5 separate regions of the Homo sapiens genome follow, and regions 1, 3, 4 and 5 are each linked to region 2. Evidence: promoter capture Hi-C in human tissues and cell types (Jung and others, 2019). All regions are on one chromosome and are shown on one strand. Each heading gives the region's core, a stretch centred on a gene start or on the middle of the fragment in contact. The rest is flanking DNA. Distances are from core to core; before and after follow the strand shown. Region 1 overlaps LRP1B (LDL receptor related protein 1B). Region 2 holds the start of LRP1B (LDL receptor related protein 1B). Region 3 overlaps LRP1B (LDL receptor related protein 1B). Region 4 overlaps LRP1B (LDL receptor related protein 1B). Region 5 overlaps LRP1B (LDL receptor related protein 1B).

Region 1 (3,537 bases), core at 486-2,985, 1.2 Mb after region 2:
ACTCAAGACATACATACAGTCTTTTGAGGAGCTTGTTAAAAAACAGAGTGCTGGGCCCCATTTCCAGAGTCTCTGATCCAGTCAGTCTCAGGTGGGGCCCAAGAATTTATATTTCTATTAGGTCAGTGCAAAAGTAATTACAGTTTTTACCAGTATGGAGAACAACAACAAAAAAAAACGCAATTACTGTTGCACCACCCTAATAAGAAATTCTCAATTAATGCTGATCCTTGTACCATGTGTATTTGATTTTATCATCTGTGCACTATGTAACGTAAGAATGTCTATATATGCAAAATTAATTTAAGTTGGAAGCAATTATCCTTACAAATTTCCTTCCCATATGTATTAGTCCATTTTCACGCTGCTGGTGAAGACATACCGTAGACTGGACAATTTACAAAAGAAAGAGGTTTAACTGGATTTATAGAAGCCTCACAATCATGATGGAAGGCAAGGAGGAGCAAGTCATATCTTAGGTGGGTGGTATGAGACAGAGAGATTGGGCAGGGAAACTCCCCCTAATGATACCCTCAGATCTCATGAGACTTATTCGTTATAATGAGAACAGCACGGCAAAGACCTGCCCCCATGTTTCAATTACCTCCCACTGGGTCCCTTTCACAACACGTGGGAATTCAAGATGTGACTTGGGTGGGGACGAGCCAAGCCATATCACCATCCTCAAATTACTATATTAAATATAAGGGCATTTCATGATTAAACATGATAATGTTTCAAACAATGACATGTTTTGTCCTTTAGACAATTTATAGTCAAGTATGATTGTTCTTTTTAAACTTTAACAATCTTTGGCTTGTTCTGTCTTCCAAGTATCTCATTATAGTTTATATTTATTATGTTTTAATAAATGTACCTTAATGTAAGTTGGTAGTACCTAATTCATTAGAAGCCTTCAACTTTGGAAATTACCTAAAGTTTGTTAGCAGATTGAAAGGTAGTTCAGGCTGGGTGTGGTGGCTCACACCTGTAATCCCAGTACTTTGGGAAGCTGAGGTAGGTGAACCACTTGAGGTCAGGAGTTTGAGACCAACCTGGCAAACATGGTGAAACCCCATCTCTACTAAAAACAGCAAAAAAATTAGTGGGGCGTGGTAATGCATGCCTGTAATCCCAGCTACTCAGGAGGCTGAGGCAGGAGAATAGCTTGAACCCGGGAGGTGGAGGTTGCAATGAGCCGAGATCGCGCCACTGCACTCCAGCCTGGGCAACAAGAGTGAGACTCCATCTCAAAAAAAAAAAAAAAAAAAAAGGAAAAAAAAAAAGATAGTTCAATGGAGTAGAAATAAAAATCTACTGAAGTTTGCAAAGTTAACATTACTCATTTTTATGGATATTGATCTTTTATAACCATGTAGATAGTAGGATTTTGTCTCTTGTACTTGTAGTCTTACTTGTAAATGCTCTTGTAATCTTGTTATCTTACAAAATTACAAGAAAAGAGAAAAGAGAGGACAGTAGAGGAGGGGGTAGGGAGAGGAGAGGAAAGGACAGGACAGGAGAGGAGAAGAGAGAAGAAGAGAGGAAGAGAAGAGTAGGCGGGCATGGTGGCTCATGCCTGTTATCTCAGCATTTTGGCAGGCTGATGTAGGTGGATCACTTGAGCCCAGAAGTTCCAGACCAGCCTGAGAAACATGGCCAGATCCCATCTCTACAAAAAATACAAAAAAATTAGCCAGGGGTGGTGATGGGTACCTGTAGTCCCAGTTACTTGGGAGGCTAAGGTGGTATGATCACTTGAGCCCAGGAGGTTGAGGCTGCAGTGAGCCATGATGCATTCCAGCCTGGGACAACCTGAGTGAGACCCAGCCTCAAAAAAATAATACATAAGTAAATAGAAAGAAAAATAGAGAAATAAGGAAGAGTTTCAGCTATCAAAATGGAATTTTTACCCAGTTAAATCAGTGGTAAGTTGTATCAAAGATAGTTTACACAAGATTATTAGAAAAGCAAAGTTCCTGATTAAGTATAATATTTTTTATTTTCTAAGAAAAAACCTGCATATGTGTGTAACCATATAATGAGGAGTAGTAATCCAGTGGAATATTGACATGAAATATAATTATTGTCCAGCACTGCTTTCAACTCCTTTGCCATTCCTTAATAATATCTTTGCACCACACAATGAGTCTGGTGACTTTTAGTTTCTATAACTTGTTCCAACCCATTTTGAAACACCAATATTATATCTTAGTCAAAGCTTTCTCCTCCCTCATTGCTGGCCAGACTTCAGGTTCTAAGAATGGGGGGAAACTATGTCCTGCTTATATAACTTTAGCTCTTCAGGCAGAGAGGAGACATGGAGGAAATGAGTAACATCTTTTCAAGCAGGTCTAGAGGAAACTTCCTTTCTGCTGCTGTAAATTTCACAATCCTCTGACACATGAGAAATGCAACTCTATTGAGAGGCTTCTGTGTGAGATCTTCAGAGAGGTTTGAGTCTCATCCCTCTTTAGGATTCCCTGAACTTCCTCCTTTTCATTTCTTCTCTCTTCTTTTCCCTTCTTCAGGGTTCCCTGCATATCTAGATCTAGGTTTCTTTTATTCCCCATAACTTCTCATTCTCACCACAGGATGTATATCTCATAGCCTTAAGTTGCTAGAATCCCCTTGCTTGGTGGGCTGCCCTTTTGGTTGCATTACTGACGTAACAAGAGAAGGTTTGCTGTCTTTGCTAAGTCCACTTTTTTTAATTTTTTTCCCCAAATGTTGTGAGCAGGCTGCTCTCTTAATGGCCTATCCCTTGGGCCTGCGATCACTCTCCAGTTCTTTGTTCTTCTCTAGATACAGGTAAAAGGGCCAGAACACTTGCAGAAAAAACATCTCATCAGTGCCTTCTCAGGAACCACACAATTTCATGAATGATTCTCATGGAGTCTGTCCTTCTCTTGCATTTGGGGATCTCTCCACAGGTTGGTCCACTGGTCTCTCCAGAAGGTTGACTTGTGCAGTACTCCCCTATTATATGAAATGGTTCCAAATATCGGTTTCTCTCTGTAGAACGTGGGGATACTTGGTGTCTCCTTGTCCTTAGTATTGGATCTAAGTGGGCCAGGGCCATGGCGAAAGAAAGAATCTCACTATTACATGCTTTTGTTTTTTAACTGACTCATTTTGTTTCTCTGTCTCTCTTCTTTTCCTTCTTCCTTTCTCCCTTCTAATCTCCTATTAAAGCAGGTTTGTACACACCTACTAGTACAAACATATACATGTTTATTCAATATATGAACATTTAGAAAGAATAATAAAAGTTATTTTAGTTTTCACAGTATAAATAAGGAGACGGAAGCACTGAAAATTGTGTGTGCAAAGTTGCAGAATGTGTTAGTAGATTTCAGTTGGATATCAGTCCCATTCACTCATAGTTGCTTATTCTCACAGAATTAGAGACTGTTGTAGTTGAATAAAATGCTTTGTAACTTAATCTCTTTTCCAATATAGGAATTCTTCTAAAACTGTTCCCAGAAGTGCTTACCTACTGATTGTTTAAATATTTTCAGAAATAACTCAACATTT
Region 2 (3,682 bases), core at 1,046-3,545:
CCTAGCTTTTCCCTTTTCCAAGCTGACCATGGAATCTAGGGCTGCTGCACGTACTACAGAAGTGAATGAGTTAGTGATTTTTAATCATAGCATTGGGGCACTTTAGTATGTGGTAAAAGTCTTTGGTGGGTCATACTGTTCCTGGCTGCTTTCCTTTACTTTGCAGTGAAGTGGAGGGCGATTGGTGGTAATCTTTCAGAAGAGGAAGAATCTGGATGTCCTTAGTATGGTTTGTAAGCACTCCTCATTTTCTTGCCAAGAGTTAAGTGGATACAGATCTCCTAATAGCTGACCTTCTAGTTGACTGAATGGGATCATGTAAGAAAGACACCTGCTACGTTGTCCCAGTGAATAAGTTTGTCATACAATACAGAGGTCTGTGGACCCTCGAGAAAGAAACATTTATTACTTGGCACATCATTCAAATCTCTCTCTGTCTCTCTCTCTCTCTCTCTCACACACACACACACACGCGCGCACACACACATATTCTTTAAACTCTGCCACTCATTTCAAAGTTTGTGAATTTTCAGTATGAAGTAAAATATGTAAAAAAATCTTTTTATTCTATATTGTACACTATATTATGAAATAATAAAAACATCTAGGAAAAATTAGACATGTAACAACTTTAGAAGAAAAGAAGCATACACTTCTCTACTAAAAGTACAAAAAAATTAGCCGGGCATGGTCGTGGGCGCCTGTAGTCCTAGCTACTCCGGAGGCTGAGGCAGGAGAATGGCGTGAACCCGGGAGGTGGAGCTTGCAGTGGGCCGAGATCGCGCCACTGCAATCCAGCCTGGGCAACAGAGAGAGACTCCGTCTCAAAAAAAAAAAAAAAAATTAAGCATACACTTTTGAATGTAGGAGTCATATTTCAAACACAAAATGGTTGTATTTTCAAGGGAAAGTAAACTTTATAATTTAAAACATGGAAAAAGTGACATAAAATACATTTATAATCACAGAGTAAGAATAAAAAGGTGAAATCCACAGATTATTGACAATGTTCTGCAAAGTCATCTCTGTGTTCTTTCATCTAGTCCAGTTTTTAATGGCTTCAAAGGAGCATCTAAAGATATTTCTGGATAATTTTACTCTCATAAATAGGTAGATAGTAATGCTGGCATTCACTTATAAGTCTCAAACAGCAAAGTAAATAAAGCTTTTAAAGCATCTTCCTTCACTTTTCAATCGTTCTCTTCCTTAGTTCTGTTCCCTTCTCATAGTTTTCCTCTCCACTCATGTCCAGTTTCAAAATATTAAATATAAAACCTTTTCAACTCTTGTTCTTAGAAGAGAATTCCTGATGTTACAAGGAAGAAAGTAAGTCTACAACTATTAAGATTTCTGAGTTTTAATTCCGTAGCCACTTTGTAATGGCAAACTAAAATTTTAGGGACTGGGATGATCATGTTGTAAACTTAAGTGGTCATAAAAACAACTTTACTAATATTATTATTCCAGTGATTCCCGTTGATGCCTCCGATGGCTCGGGAAAGTTCTTACACCGCCCCTGTAGTATATGGAAAAGGAAAACAAAACAAAACACAAAACAAAAACAACAAAACCCTCAAAGCCTGTTTAAAATGGCTCGAAGTACCCTTTTAAAGACAGAACCCCAGAGAAAAACGCTGCCAATTCGTTGCTTTATTGTTCCCTGCCTGGGGACCTCAATAGCCTTTTCCATTAACCTTCCCTTCTTACGCAACGGTTAATGACTTTGGGGGTTGTTTTGCTTTCTGTTTCTGCTGAGTCACTAAATTTTGCCTCTTTGTCCCCAGGTGCTGCTCAGCATAAAAGTTAAAAGTGCAATTCAGGAAGTACTGGGATTCTGTGTAGAGCCGAGGAAACCATTTCCCTAAGAGAAGCTCTGTTCCTTGGCTTGTCCTTCCTTCCCGGGAAGGAAGCTTCCGAGGAACGAAGGGAGAAGCTTTGTTTTGCCTGCAGAAGCAGCCCTGTGCTCGGCTGAGGGTTCTCAGCTGGCTGTGAACTGCGGAGCATTGTAGGCGCCTGGCTGGCTCAGGCCAATGCAGAAGTCTCTCCCTTCTCCAAAGACCCAAATCCCCACAGAACCAGCTTCGAGTTACTTTCCCTTCAAGGGGATTAAAATAATTGTGATTTGTGGCGCTCTCCGTTCGCGGTGGTATTTTCCTGTTGTGTTAAATGCCTCTTATTAAGTAATAGATGTGATTTATGTGAACGACGAAGGGGTGTGTGGTGGATTCGGTGATTAATCAGTGAATTCCCATCCGCTGGCATCTCTCACTGCCCCTCTTGCGTGATGTAAGATCAGACGTACCCTGCATTGAAAAGTCAAGACACACGGGCGTCTCGCTCGCGCTCACACACGCTCTGCCTCCTCTCTCCCGCACGCGCGCATCCCTCCACCTTCCACATCCTGCTCCAGGCAGGAGAAGGCTGACTGGCTGGACTCATTGAGCTGAAGAATTTCCAGTGACATTTGTAAATGACGCCGCTCGATTCCAGGCTCCAAGCGGCCCCTGCCGCCGCCGCCGCCGCCGGGCCGAAGGTGCCGCCGAGCAGTCTCCAGCGCAGGCTTCCTTACCGGGCGACCACAATGTCCGAGTTTCTCCTCGCCTTACTCACTCTCTCGGGATTATTGCCGATTGCCAGGGTGCTGACCGTGGGAGCCGACCGAGGTAAGGAGAACACCTCCCCGCTCCCCTCCCCTGACTTCCTTGGCTTTCCTGCTGGGCGATGCTTGCAGATAAGTGAGTGTGAAACTTAAGTCCTTGCAGCTCCGCTCCCCGGGACCGGGTGACCACCGTGCGCTGGCCCTGTGCGGGGGTGAGAGGTGCGGTGCGGGATTTCTGAACCAAGTGCCTGAGTCCTCGGCACCCCCACAGCTTTTCCCTTTGGCCGTTTCCCGGTCCCCATTTTGTCCCCTCCGGGAGTGTGTGCACTTGGCTGTGCGCTTCTGTCCGCGAATTCTAAGCGCTGCAGATGTTGGAATGAGAATTCGCATTTCCGAAAGACTTCCCTCCGCGATGGCCCTCAACTGCGAGCTTTTGCGAGCTCCAGGTTCTCCGCGTTAAGCGTGTCCGCCCTCAACTTAGCTCCCAGGTTAACTTCCTTACCTGCTGCATTCGAGGTCCGTGGAGCGGCGAAAGCGCCGATTCAGGCCCCTTTCGTTTCTATAGCCCCTTCCTGGGGGCAGACTGGGGTCAGAGTCCTGTCATCAGCAGAGAGGCTTTTAGGACGATTCCGGGCGCACGCACCTGCTTGAAATTGACTTTTCGATTATGAGGGTCTGTGACACAGCCCAGGTGCTCTGAGGGGCTAACCCACCCCTGGAGTGCCTCTCTCCAGTCTGGCGCTTTGCTTTTCCTTTTTCTCCAAGCAGCTGGTGAATGGTAGAAGTTTAGAAGGGAATGGATATGGGGAGCAGAGGAGAAAGGAGGTAGGAATTAGAAAAAGCCGGGATTCTATAAACTTTTCATCTGGAAAATCAAGAATCCCTGTGCGAGTTTAATAATCTTTGACAACAGATGCACTGGTGAAAAAGGGAGGAAAATACTAGATGAATATTTGGGGCACTGGCCCTGGCCTTGGAATGGTTAACTGGTTAAAGTAAAATCAGAAGTATCATAGATTTTTTTAAAATCAGAAAATGAGCTTATATTGACTGGTATAGTTCAGCTTTTTAGTTTAAATAAGA
Region 3 (3,616 bases), core at 615-3,114, 1.2 Mb after region 2:
AGGCTGGTCTCAAACTCCTGACCTCAGGTGATCCACGAGCCTTGGCTTCCCAAAGTGCTGGGATTACAGGCACGAGCCACCGCACCTGTCCTTCTATTTCTTTTTAAGTCAATTTTGCTAACACATTTCTCTAAGAATTGACTTATTTTACATATTTTCAAGTGTATTATTAAAATGCATATCTTACTCATCTGTTTTTTATTTTCTATATTTTCTATTTTTACTCTTCCTGTTGTTAATTTATATATGTATGTATATTTATATGTATAAGTATATATATATAAAATCAAGTCTGCCATAGGTCATCTATCTATATTTTGTTATTCTTTTAAACAAATGGCTTTGGGTTTGCTAGTAATATCTTTTGTTGTATTTTATCAATTTCTGTAGTTATATTTGTTATTATTTTCAAATTTGAGTTAATTCATTTTTATTTTCTGAATTCTTTGAGTTGAAATATTATTCCATTAATTTTTCTAATAATAGTTTCTCTATTCAACTAACTCAAATGCACAGAAAAGAAACAGAACTAAATTGTTGGCATTCTTTGTTTTCTTTATGTAGATAGAAAATTTTTCAGATCTGAGGAGGGTTATAGGAATGACTCTAAATGAGTAAAAAATTAATGATATATGGAACCTGGACTGTTAACAGTGAGCTAAAGGTAGTATTTGTACAGTTTTATGCCCTTTACAAGTTCTTACAGTCATTACCACATTTTTTAAATAACAGATGTATTGAGATATAATTTACATACCATAAGATTCACTCTTTTAAAGTGCACAATTCAGTTTAACTATTACAACTATTTAATTTTGAGCACTTTAATCACCCCAAAACAAACCCCATGCCCATTTGCAATCACTTCCTGTTAATACCTACCCTCGGCCCTAGAAACCACTGATCTATTTTCTACCACTAAAGATTTGCCTATTCTGGACATTTCATATAAATGTAATCATGCAATATGTGTTTTATGACTAGCTTCTTTCACTTGGTGTAATGTTTTCATTTGTTTTAGCATACACAAGTAATTCTTTTCTTTGTATTGATGAATAATATATCTATCATGTGGATAGACAGCATTTTTTTATTCATCAGTTGATGAGCATATGAATTATATCCATTTTTGGTTATTATGAATAATGCTGCCATGAATATGCACCAGTTTTTGTGTGAACATGCATTTTTAATTATCTGGGGTGTTCAACTAGAACTGGAATTTTTGCTGCTCTTACATTTAAGTCTATAATACAGTTTGAGTTAGTTTTTGTCTATGGTATGAAATAAGTTTGAATATGAGTGGAGGAAAAATCATCTTTCCAAGAAATAATGCTCTGGGAGGACTAGATTTTCACATGCAATTGAATGATATCTGAACCTATCTCATACCATATGCAAAAATTAATTCAAATTGTATCAAAGACCTAACATAAGAGCTAATCCAAAATTAGGTAATTTTTCTTTTAAACAACTGTGCATCCAACACAAACATTTTCTTTATTTTAAAAATGCTAAATCCTGGATATTAAATTTTAAGAGTATTTGTTTTATTGGGAGCTATTTGGAACTATTCTGTACCTGTTTTTGATATATTGTTTCAGTTAGCTCTTGTCACAATAATGTCATACAGCAAAAACAATACTGTGCAATAAATAACTGCAATATCTAAGTGATCACAACAATATACATCAGTATGTCTCACAGTAATTAGTTTAGGGTTGATACATTTTTGAAATAACATAATTTTAGTAACTTTCAGATACTGAAACATTCTTTTAAGCACAAAAAATAATACTAAAAGAAACTTTAATCTCATATCCGTTTTCAAAGCTTCTTTCCTTTCTCCCTACCCAGGCCTGTTTCAGGCTAAAAAACACCAAGTGAGGAATGATATAGTTATGATTTTTTTGGACTCTGCAGGAAGCCGCCATCTTGTCTCTTAATGGAAGCACTCCCTAACTATAAGTCCAACAACTTCTTCACAGATCTCTTTTTCTTTGTTGTTGGATAGTTCTCCTCTATGGATCTGTTAGTATGGGATAGTTAGTTAAGAGTGTAGCAAAGTTAGTTTTAGCCAAATCTTAGCAATTTCTATGGTGACTTTTCTGAGCATTAAGTTGTCAGCTGAAATTCTAAAAAAAAAAACAGAAAATCCTCCATTTTGTCTTTGCGTGGCAATAATTCTTCTATTCTTTAATCAGTATCAGGTATATGTAAATCCAAGGAATAAAAACTCCCTAATACCTATTCTAGTGAATACACATAAACCTAAGTTTTGCAAGTTTCTGTTAAATTTTGGATTAAAAGAAATTGCTGTTTTAAGACAGAGAATTATGTAATAAATTATACTTTTAAATAATATATTTTGATCCCAAGCATTTCATTACCAGAGTTTACATTTTCATAAGCCTATTAAAAATAAATTTAATTTCAGATCCTTTTGAAGCATTCATCATCTTTTCTATTCGTCATGAGATCAGAAGGATTGATCTTCACAAAAGAGACTATAGTCTACTTGTTCCTGGATTGAGAAACACAATAGCACTTGATTTTCACTTCAATCAAAGTTTACTTTATTGGACAGATGTTGTAGAAGACAGAATATACCGGGGAAAGCTTTCTGAAAGTGGAGGTACATATATTATAATTTTTCTTAATGTTTAGATTACTTTTTTAAGTGAAAATTCAAAGAACACGTTATAACTAGAAGAAATTTTGATTATTCTTTGACCTTTGGTCCTTTATCCCCTCCCTCATATATGTAAAATCAGGGATATTGAGCATCTGTGTGAGCACCTGTTGGGGGCAGGAAGTGGTGACGCTCGTGCTGTTCACACCATTTGCCACTGTGGACTTTTCCATGGACTGATGGCAAAGAAATGCATTTACAAGAAAAAAAAAAAGACTGGTTGTTACATACCATTAGTCACATTTTTAGGAGTTACAATAACTTGTTTTTTTTTTTTTTTTAATTTTGCTACCATCTTTCAACATAATTCAAAAAAATGAAGAAAGTATTACAAAGATGACTAATATGAGCTAAATATTTTTGCCATAATTTGACTTATCTCTTTTGGCTAAGCTAACCCTTTCTTAAGTAGAAAGTCTTTGATATAAATAGCCGGGTGTGGTGGCTCACACCTATAATCCCAGCACATTGGGAGGCCGAGGCAGGCAGATCACGTGAGGTCAGGAGATCCAGACCAGCCTGGCCCATATGATGAAACCCCATCTCTACTATAAATACAAAAAATAGCTGGACGTGGTGGTGCATGCCTGTATTCCCAGCTGCTCGGGAGGCTGAGGTAGGAGAATTGCGTGAACCTGGGAGGCGGAGGTTGCAGTGAGCCTAGATCATTTCATTGTACTCCAGCCTGGGCAACAGAATACTTTATCTCAAAAAAAAAAAAAAAGGAAGCCGTTGACATAAATATATATTTCTTTTGAAATGTTGCACCCATGTACCATTCCAAGGACAAGGTATCTCTGTCAAATTGTTAATTCCATTGTAAATCACCTTTGCAATTTTGAAAAATGGTCATATTTAAGCACATAATATAATTATGATATGTAAACTTATATCCTATGTCATATACTGATTTAAAATGATGGA
Region 4 (3,521 bases), core at 393-2,892, 1.1 Mb after region 2:
ATTTTGAATTTATAAAACAAATCTTCGGAGGTGCTTTCTCATTAGTCTTTTCACAGGGAGAGCTATGTTTTTGCAGCTTCTAAATATCCATTATTATATAAACAAGTAGCCCTTAAAATATCTCAAATTATGTATAACAGTGTCACAGGCATATTATTGAATATGCTTGAAAGTCTTGCTCTCACAAGCCTTTGAAAAATAACTACTAAATATGCTCTCTTAATGTCATATGAATACAATTCTGTCCCTACATTTGGAACTGTTTTAAACACTACTGCATAATGTTTTCTTCTCCAGAAAAAAAAGTTTTAATCAGGGAAATGTTGAACTCCTTGAGAAAAAGTAAATAACATCCTTGCGGTTCTTCTGCTGTGGCCATTTTCCATACTAGTAAATAGCAATCAGCTTTTCTTTCAAATTGCAAGCTACATAATTAAAAATCATAGTTATGTTTTGCCCTCTTTATAGGTTAGACATCTTTATGGTATAACTGTGTTTGAAGATTATTTGTATGCAACCAATTCTGATAACTACAATATCGTAAGGATAAACCGATTTAATGGGACTGATATTCACTCATTAATTAAAATTGAGAATGCTTGGGGAATCCGAATTTATCAAAAAAGAACTCAACCAACAGGTAAGTGGGAAAGCTTCTTTATTACCTTCCTAATGGTAGATTGAATGGGGATATAGTCCTTGTGCTTTTGTATGGTGTTGAAGTGAGTGAGTCATAAATTCTCTGCTTTGACAGCAAAAGTAGGCATGTCTGCTTGTTAAATGGAATAGAGCTCCCGTCACAAGTCTAAATGACAGATTGTTCAGTTTCTAGTGAATCGTTTCTATGATAGAATTGAAATGATAGCTAGATTTAGATTCAGGAAGGGGCTTTCAGTCGTGATGAATGTAGACAGGAAACCCAGATGCTAAAGTTATTATTTTTTCCTTTTAAATATCATTTTGGTAGACAAATTTAAAATCAGGTGACTGCCTTGAAGTATCTGTCCAGTGTTTATTATAGTCATTGGGCTCTCCTAACTTAACATTGCAATTGTTCTTTAACACATATTCATTAAAAAGTAATTTTCAATGAGAAGGCTGCAGTTTTTCTCAGAAAAACAAACCAGTTGTTTCTACAGGAGATTAGTGATGCTGTTCATCAATACAATTTAGGTTCAATCATACATAAAAAAAGAGAATATAAAAAGCCACCAGCAAAAATTTTTACTGTATTTTATACTTGTATTTCAAATTAAAACTAGCCTAGAATTATCTAAGCATTAACATATATCTAATCACGGCTGTACATTGTCACAAATATGTTTACAACAGACTCAAATTTAAAATTCTGTAGATGGCCTTATTAGAGTTTAATATTAGGATTTATTCATTCATTAATTTTTCATGGACAATCTACTATGTTCCAGGAACTATTCTATGTATACTGTGAATAGAGCAGTGAATAAAACAGACAAAATAGTCTTGCCTTTATGAGTTTACACTCCAGTGGAGAAGCTATGATACAAAATAACTAAGTAAATTATGTATTATATTAGAAGGTAATAAGTGCTATAGAGAAAATCAAGAAAGTAAGGTGGATAAAGATGTCAGAAATGGGAGCAGTCTTCAATTTTATATGGAAGAGTCAGAAGAAGTTCCATGGAAAAGATGACATTGAATAATGACTTGAGGTATTTGAAGGAGAAAGGCATGGGGATTGTATTAATCGGTTTTCACACTGCTGATAAAGACGTACCCAAGACTGGGCAATTTACAAAAGAAAGAGGTTTAATTGGACTTACAGTTCCACATGGCTGGGGAAACCTCACAATCACAGCAGAAGGCAAGGAGGAGCAAGTCACATCTTATGTGGATAGCCACAGACAGAGAGCTTGTGCAGGAAAACCCCCCTTTTTAAAACCATCAGATCTCATGAGACTTATTTGCTATCACAAGAACAGCATGGGAAAGACCTGCCCCCATGATTCAATTACCTCCTACTGGGTCCCCCCCAACAACACGTGGGAATTCAAGATGAGATTTGGGTGGGGATACAGACAAACCATATCAGAGATATCTGGGCAACAACATTGCAGGTGGTGGGATGAACAAGCACAAAAGCCATGAGGAGAGAACATGTCTAGACTGTTCAAGGAGTGGCAAGAATACCTGTGTGTCTAAAGCAGAACGAACAAGGAAAAGAGAAGTAGGAAATAAGGCTGGAGAAACAAAGGAGGACCATAACAAGTAGGGCTCTGTAGACTATTATAAAAAACTTTTGCTTATACTTTTAGTGAGATGGGAAGTCCTTAGAAAGCATTAAACAGAAAAATCTCACGGTATGACTGACATTTTTAAAGAACCAATATGGCTACTCTGTTGATAATAGGTAGTAGGGAGGAGAAGGTTGGAAGGTTACAGAGGATGGTGGATTGGATCAAGATCCAGCAGTGAAAGTGGTAAGAAGTAGTGAAATTCAGAATATAGGCAAATATAGAGCCGATAGGATTTTCTGATACATTAGAGGTGGAGTATAAATCAGACAGTGGTCTAGCTAGAGGAGTTGGAATAATTTAGTTACTTTTTAGATGGGGAAACTAAGCATGGAGTGAGTTTAGGACAAAGATAGCAAATTTAATTTTCATGAGTTACTTTAAATGTTTATTACAAATTAAAGTGAAAATATCAAGGGTATATTTAAATATACAACTCTGGAGTTGAAGGGGGAAGTCCAAGCTTGAGATACCAATTTGGGAGTCATTGACAGACAGGTCACATTTAAAGCCATGACTATGGATGTGAACACCAAGGCAGTAATCACAAATGGAGAAATAAGCATTCCAAATAATGGACACTGGTATGCTCCAGCAATAAGCTGAAAAGAATAGGAAAAACCAAAAGAAGAGACTGAGATGAAGCTTCTTAAATCCAATTGACCATAGGATTTAGCAGCATGAAGCTCACTGGGATCTGACAAGGGCAGTTTCAGAATTAAGTGAATATATGAGTAGAATGGGTTTGAGAGAGAGAAGAAGGAAAAGAATTGTAGAAAATGATCATTGGTAGCTTTGCACAGTGTGGATGTAAGCTAGGGCAGAGAAATGGAGAGCTAGTTGAAGGAAGGATTGTTGTGGGAATTTGGGTTAAAAGATTTTTGATTAGATGTAGAAATAATGGTATATTTGCATGTTGATGGACATGATCCAATGGAAAAAGCAAAAGTGATGATAAGATTTAGAAAGTGGAGAGTTGTTGATTAGTTGAGAGGAGATGCGATCTATTGTATAAGTGGAGTCAGGTTGGAAAATAACAATAACACTCTTGGCAGGAAAAAATTAGTAAAAATTGCATTTCACTCATCTTCTGACTTGGAGAATGAAGAATACAAAGATAATAGGCATAATTTTTAAAAGCATATTAGTTTTATTATGAAGAGAACACTGCCATGATATTCATCACCATTTCAAACAAGTGGGTGATCTAAAAGAAACATAATTACAATAATATGTAAAATCTTACTT
Region 5 (3,738 bases), core at 253-2,752, 1.3 Mb after region 2:
AAAAGGGCAATGATAGAGCCTTGGAAACTGCAACACTAAAAAGGAAGGCAAAGAAGAATGCTCAGAAAAAGGGCACCAACAGATTTCAGGACAAAAAGAGAAAGCGTGTGCATGCGCACACACACACACAAAAGGAACAGTTTCAAGCTAACACTAGCCAACAGTATTTGCTTTTGTAGAAAAGCCAATAAAAATAAAGACATAAATGCATTCATTGGATTTGGCAACCTGGAAAAAGGTCAGTGATAATTTTAGTGAGAGCAATTTCAGTGGGTTTGTTTGCATATGTCCTCGTGATCCTAAATAGGTCTGACATTAGCTATTAGTATAACTTTCAACTCTTTTTACTACAAAATATAATTTACTAAATAGAACTAGATTGTTCAGTCAAACAGTAAATTCCAAAAAAAATACCTTCATAGCAATCAGCTTAGTCTAGAGCCAGATTGCTTGGGTTCAAATTCCAAATTTGTCAAATCCTGACTTCTTGTGCATTAGTATTAGTTTGTTTCTCTACATTAGTATTTGTTTGTTTGCTTGTTTGTAAATCTGTAAAATGGAATTGTTATAAAGATTAAATACATCAGTCTTTCTCTTTGTTTTTTGAGATGGAATCTCACTCTGTCTCTCAGGCTGGAGTGCAGTGGCACGATCTTGGCTCACTGCAACCTCCGCCTCCCAGGTTCAAGCGATTCTCCAGCCTCTGCCTCCCAAGTAGCTTGGATTACAGTCACGTGCCACCTTGTCCAGCTAATTTTTGTAATTTTAGTAGAGATGAGGTTTCCCCATGTTGGCTAGGCTGATATTGATCTCCTGACCTCAGGTGATCTGCCCTCCTCGGCTTCCCAAAGTTCTGGGATTACAGGCGTGAGCCACTGCGCCCGGCCACATTAGTCTCTTTTAGGCAGTTAGAAGATACCTGGCAAGTACTAAGCACTTTAAAAGTGTTTGTTAAATAACTTAAATAGATAAATTAGATAAATTAGATAGATAGATAGATAGATAGATAGATAGATAGATAGATAGATAGATAGATGCACAATTCTCTTACTTCGTTTTACACATTGCCGCCAAACTCTCCTCCCCCACCCTGTAAGGGAGTTGTCTGTAACCATGGAGAAAGTGAAATCTAACTCTTCTTTTGTATGCTTCTTCTCTACCACCCATCTACCATGTCATTTTTCTCTGTGTCCTCACTCAGCCCAAAGGTGTTTTCTTCATCACCACTCCAGGTGCAGGGTTAAATTTTCTCATAAACCCAGCAAGAATCTACCACCCTGGGTTTTTCTGTTTTCTTTTGTGTTTCTTTCCTTAGCTGCTCTAATTGGAATTAAAAAAAAAAAATCTTTCAAGAATGTGATTGTTATTTTAATTACAGAGTGCTGCAAACCCTTTATCTGTTAGATTTTCACCAATTATGTTTTTCTCTTTTTGTAGAAACTTATTTTTCATGTAAACAGAACTTGGTTTAAAGGGGTCTTAAATGTTTGTTGATAAAAATAGTACTATTTTTGCAGGAACATTTTAGTTTACTTTCAAAGTCAGGCTACTGACTCAACTGCTCCTTTTAAATTTTATTTTGAAAACATAGCAACTAGTAAATATACAAACTGTTTTAGATAATAATATGACTTCCTTTTAAAAAAGAATCAAAACCCAGAAAAAGAGAGAATGAGTAAGACATTGAGAGGTTTCTCCACAGTTACAACAATAATTAGATCAAATGTAATCATACCAGTTATACTCTAACTCAGTCTCCATTTCACATCCCTGTTTTATAAGACATCCATCAATTGGCCCATGAATGAACGAGTGAATAAATCAGAATGAATTGCTTCACATAGAGAGGTTGTGTACTGTAGTAGTTAAAACCTGGACTCTGGAACCTGAATCTTTCTGTTCTCCTTTTAATACTTGTGTGATCTTGACTGAGTCTTTTTTACCTTCTCAAAGTTAAGTTTAGCCTTTGCAAAATGAAGGCAATTTTTTTTTAATTTTTATTTATTATTTATTTTTTGAGATGGAGTCTCGCTCTTTCACCCAGGCTGGAGTGCAGGGGTGCGATCTCCGCTCACTGCAAGCTCCGCCTCCCGGGTTCACACCATTCTCCTGCCTCAGCCTCCCGAGTAGCTGGGACTACAGGTGTCCGCCGCCACACTCGGCTAATTTTTTTGTATTTTTAGTAGAGATGGGGTTTCACCGTGTTAGCCAGGATGGTCTCGATCTCCTGACCTCATGATCCGCCCACCTCGGCCTCCCAAAGTGCTAGGATTACAGTCGGGAGCCACCGCACACGGCCAGGCAATTTATTTTCATAAACAAAGGTTACCATTAAGAGGAATAAATAAAATAATGCTTATAAAACACTTGGCACATTTTCTAGCATAATATAATAAAATAAATTATTTCTTTAACTTTTAAAATCATTTTTTTTAAAATCCCACTGTCCATTATAGGAAAATTGCAAGCTGTTTCTCAAAAAGTAGTTTAACATCGAAATGATTTAAGTGCCTCCAATTGCATCAGAAAAATATGTCTATAGAAAATTAAACTTTTCTTGACAACATCTATAAGAAAACAGGATAAGCTTATTTCACAATAAAAAATGTTATATTTTAAGAATATTATTGATACTCCCTCACTAATTCACTCCTTAGAGGACAAAGTATCACTTACAAAACCTGAAGGATGAGGGATTTCATATAGGACTATTAATATTTTCAATTAGAATTATGGGGAATACTTTTCACATGATTAATAAAAGGTTTTTTTTTTCTTTTTTGTCAAAAAGAAATACCCTCAAAAACATGTTGCAGCATGGTGGAGGTGAATCTCAAATACTTGCAGGTTGCTTAAATTATTTGCTTCCACAATTTACTATATTAAGATCTAGGCCAGTCCCGATGGCTGACACTGGTAAACCCAGCACTTTGGGAGGCCGAAGCAGGCAAATCACTTGAGCTCACAAGTTCAAGAGCAGCCTGGGCAACATGGTGAAACCCTGTATTTTCAGAAAAAAAGAAAATCTAACTAGGCTGGATAAAGATAATGTGGTACATATACACCATGGAATACTATGCAGCCATAAAAAGGAATGAGATTATGCTCTCTGCAGGGACATGGATGGAGCTGGAAGCCATTATTCTCAGCAAACTAAAGCAGGAACAGAAAACTAAACACCACATATTCGCACTTATAAGTGGGAGCTGAACATTGAGAACACATGGACACATGGTGGGGAACAACACACACTGGGGCCTGTCGAGGGGTGGGGATAGGGGAGAGAGAGCATCAGGAAAAATCGCTAATGGATACTAGGTTTAAAACCTAGGTGATGGGTTGATCTGTGCAGCAAACCACCATGGCACATGTTTACCTATGTAACAAACCTGCACATCCTACACATGTACCCTGGAACTTAAAAAGAAAAAGAAAGATCTAACTACTTGTCATATAAATTAAATTTCTCTTTCTCTTTCCTTTCTCTCTCTCTCTCTCTCTCTCTCTCTCCATATATATAAAATATATATTATATATAAAATAATTTTTTTAGCAGAGTTGATAATGTAGGATAGAGGTTATACACGTACATACATACATACATACATAATACATTGTATTGTTCTCCTCACTGTTAACTCGTATCTAGCATCTCTTTATTTCATATATTTATATACTATCGGTATGAGATTTATGTGATCTAACATGTATCCTATTTTAAAATGCAGAATCCCTAGT

What was found. Contacts are between HindIII fragments. The study calls those that stand out against the background at their distance.
Region 1: a contact is called between a fragment that was not itself captured here and the fragment with the promoter of LRP1B in region 2, in 1 of the 25 tissues and cell types used here (dorsolateral prefrontal cortex).
Region 3: a fragment that was not itself captured here is called in contact with the fragment with the promoter of LRP1B in region 2 in 1 of the 25 tissues and cell types used here (dorsolateral prefrontal cortex).
Region 4: a fragment that was not itself captured here is called in contact with the fragment with the promoter of LRP1B in region 2 in 1 of the 25 tissues and cell types used here (dorsolateral prefrontal cortex).
Region 5: a contact is called between a fragment that was not itself captured here and the fragment with the promoter of LRP1B in region 2, in 1 of the 25 tissues and cell types used here (dorsolateral prefrontal cortex).

Annotation. Positions count from the first base shown.
Region 1 is chr2:140,974,240-140,977,776 of GRCh38, reverse strand. The region is part of intron 18 of LRP1B (LDL receptor related protein 1B); the gene reads left to right. Among named protein-coding and RNA genes, the nearest start is that of MIR7157, 390 kb to the right of the region's middle. The HindIII fragment of the contact is 6,569 bases long and covers 1-3,537 here.
Region 2 is chr2:142,129,629-142,133,310 of GRCh38, reverse strand. It overlaps LRP1B (LDL receptor related protein 1B), which reads left to right and starts at 2,295. Exons shown (of 91, transcript NM_018557.3): 1 at 2,295-2,663. The coding sequence starts at 2,582. RefSeq lists an enhancer at 1,228-2,427. The HindIII fragment of the contact is 3,160 bases long and covers 216-3,375 here.
Region 3 is chr2:140,885,157-140,888,772 of GRCh38, reverse strand. LRP1B (LDL receptor related protein 1B) reads left to right here. Exons shown (of 91, transcript NM_018557.3): 24 at 2,438-2,635. Among named protein-coding and RNA genes, the nearest start is that of MIR7157, 300 kb to the right of the region's middle. The HindIII fragment of the contact is 4,328 bases long and covers 1-3,616 here.
Region 4 is chr2:141,056,002-141,059,522 of GRCh38, reverse strand. It overlaps LRP1B (LDL receptor related protein 1B), which reads left to right. Exons shown (of 91, transcript NM_018557.3): 9 at 469-640. Among named protein-coding and RNA genes, the nearest start is that of MIR7157, 470 kb to the right of the region's middle. The HindIII fragment of the contact is 5,701 bases long and covers 1-3,521 here.
Region 5 is chr2:140,858,274-140,862,011 of GRCh38, reverse strand. All of the region lies in intron 27 of LRP1B (LDL receptor related protein 1B), which reads left to right. Among named protein-coding and RNA genes, the nearest start is that of MIR7157, 270 kb to the right of the region's middle. The HindIII fragment of the contact is 5,102 bases long and covers 1-3,738 here.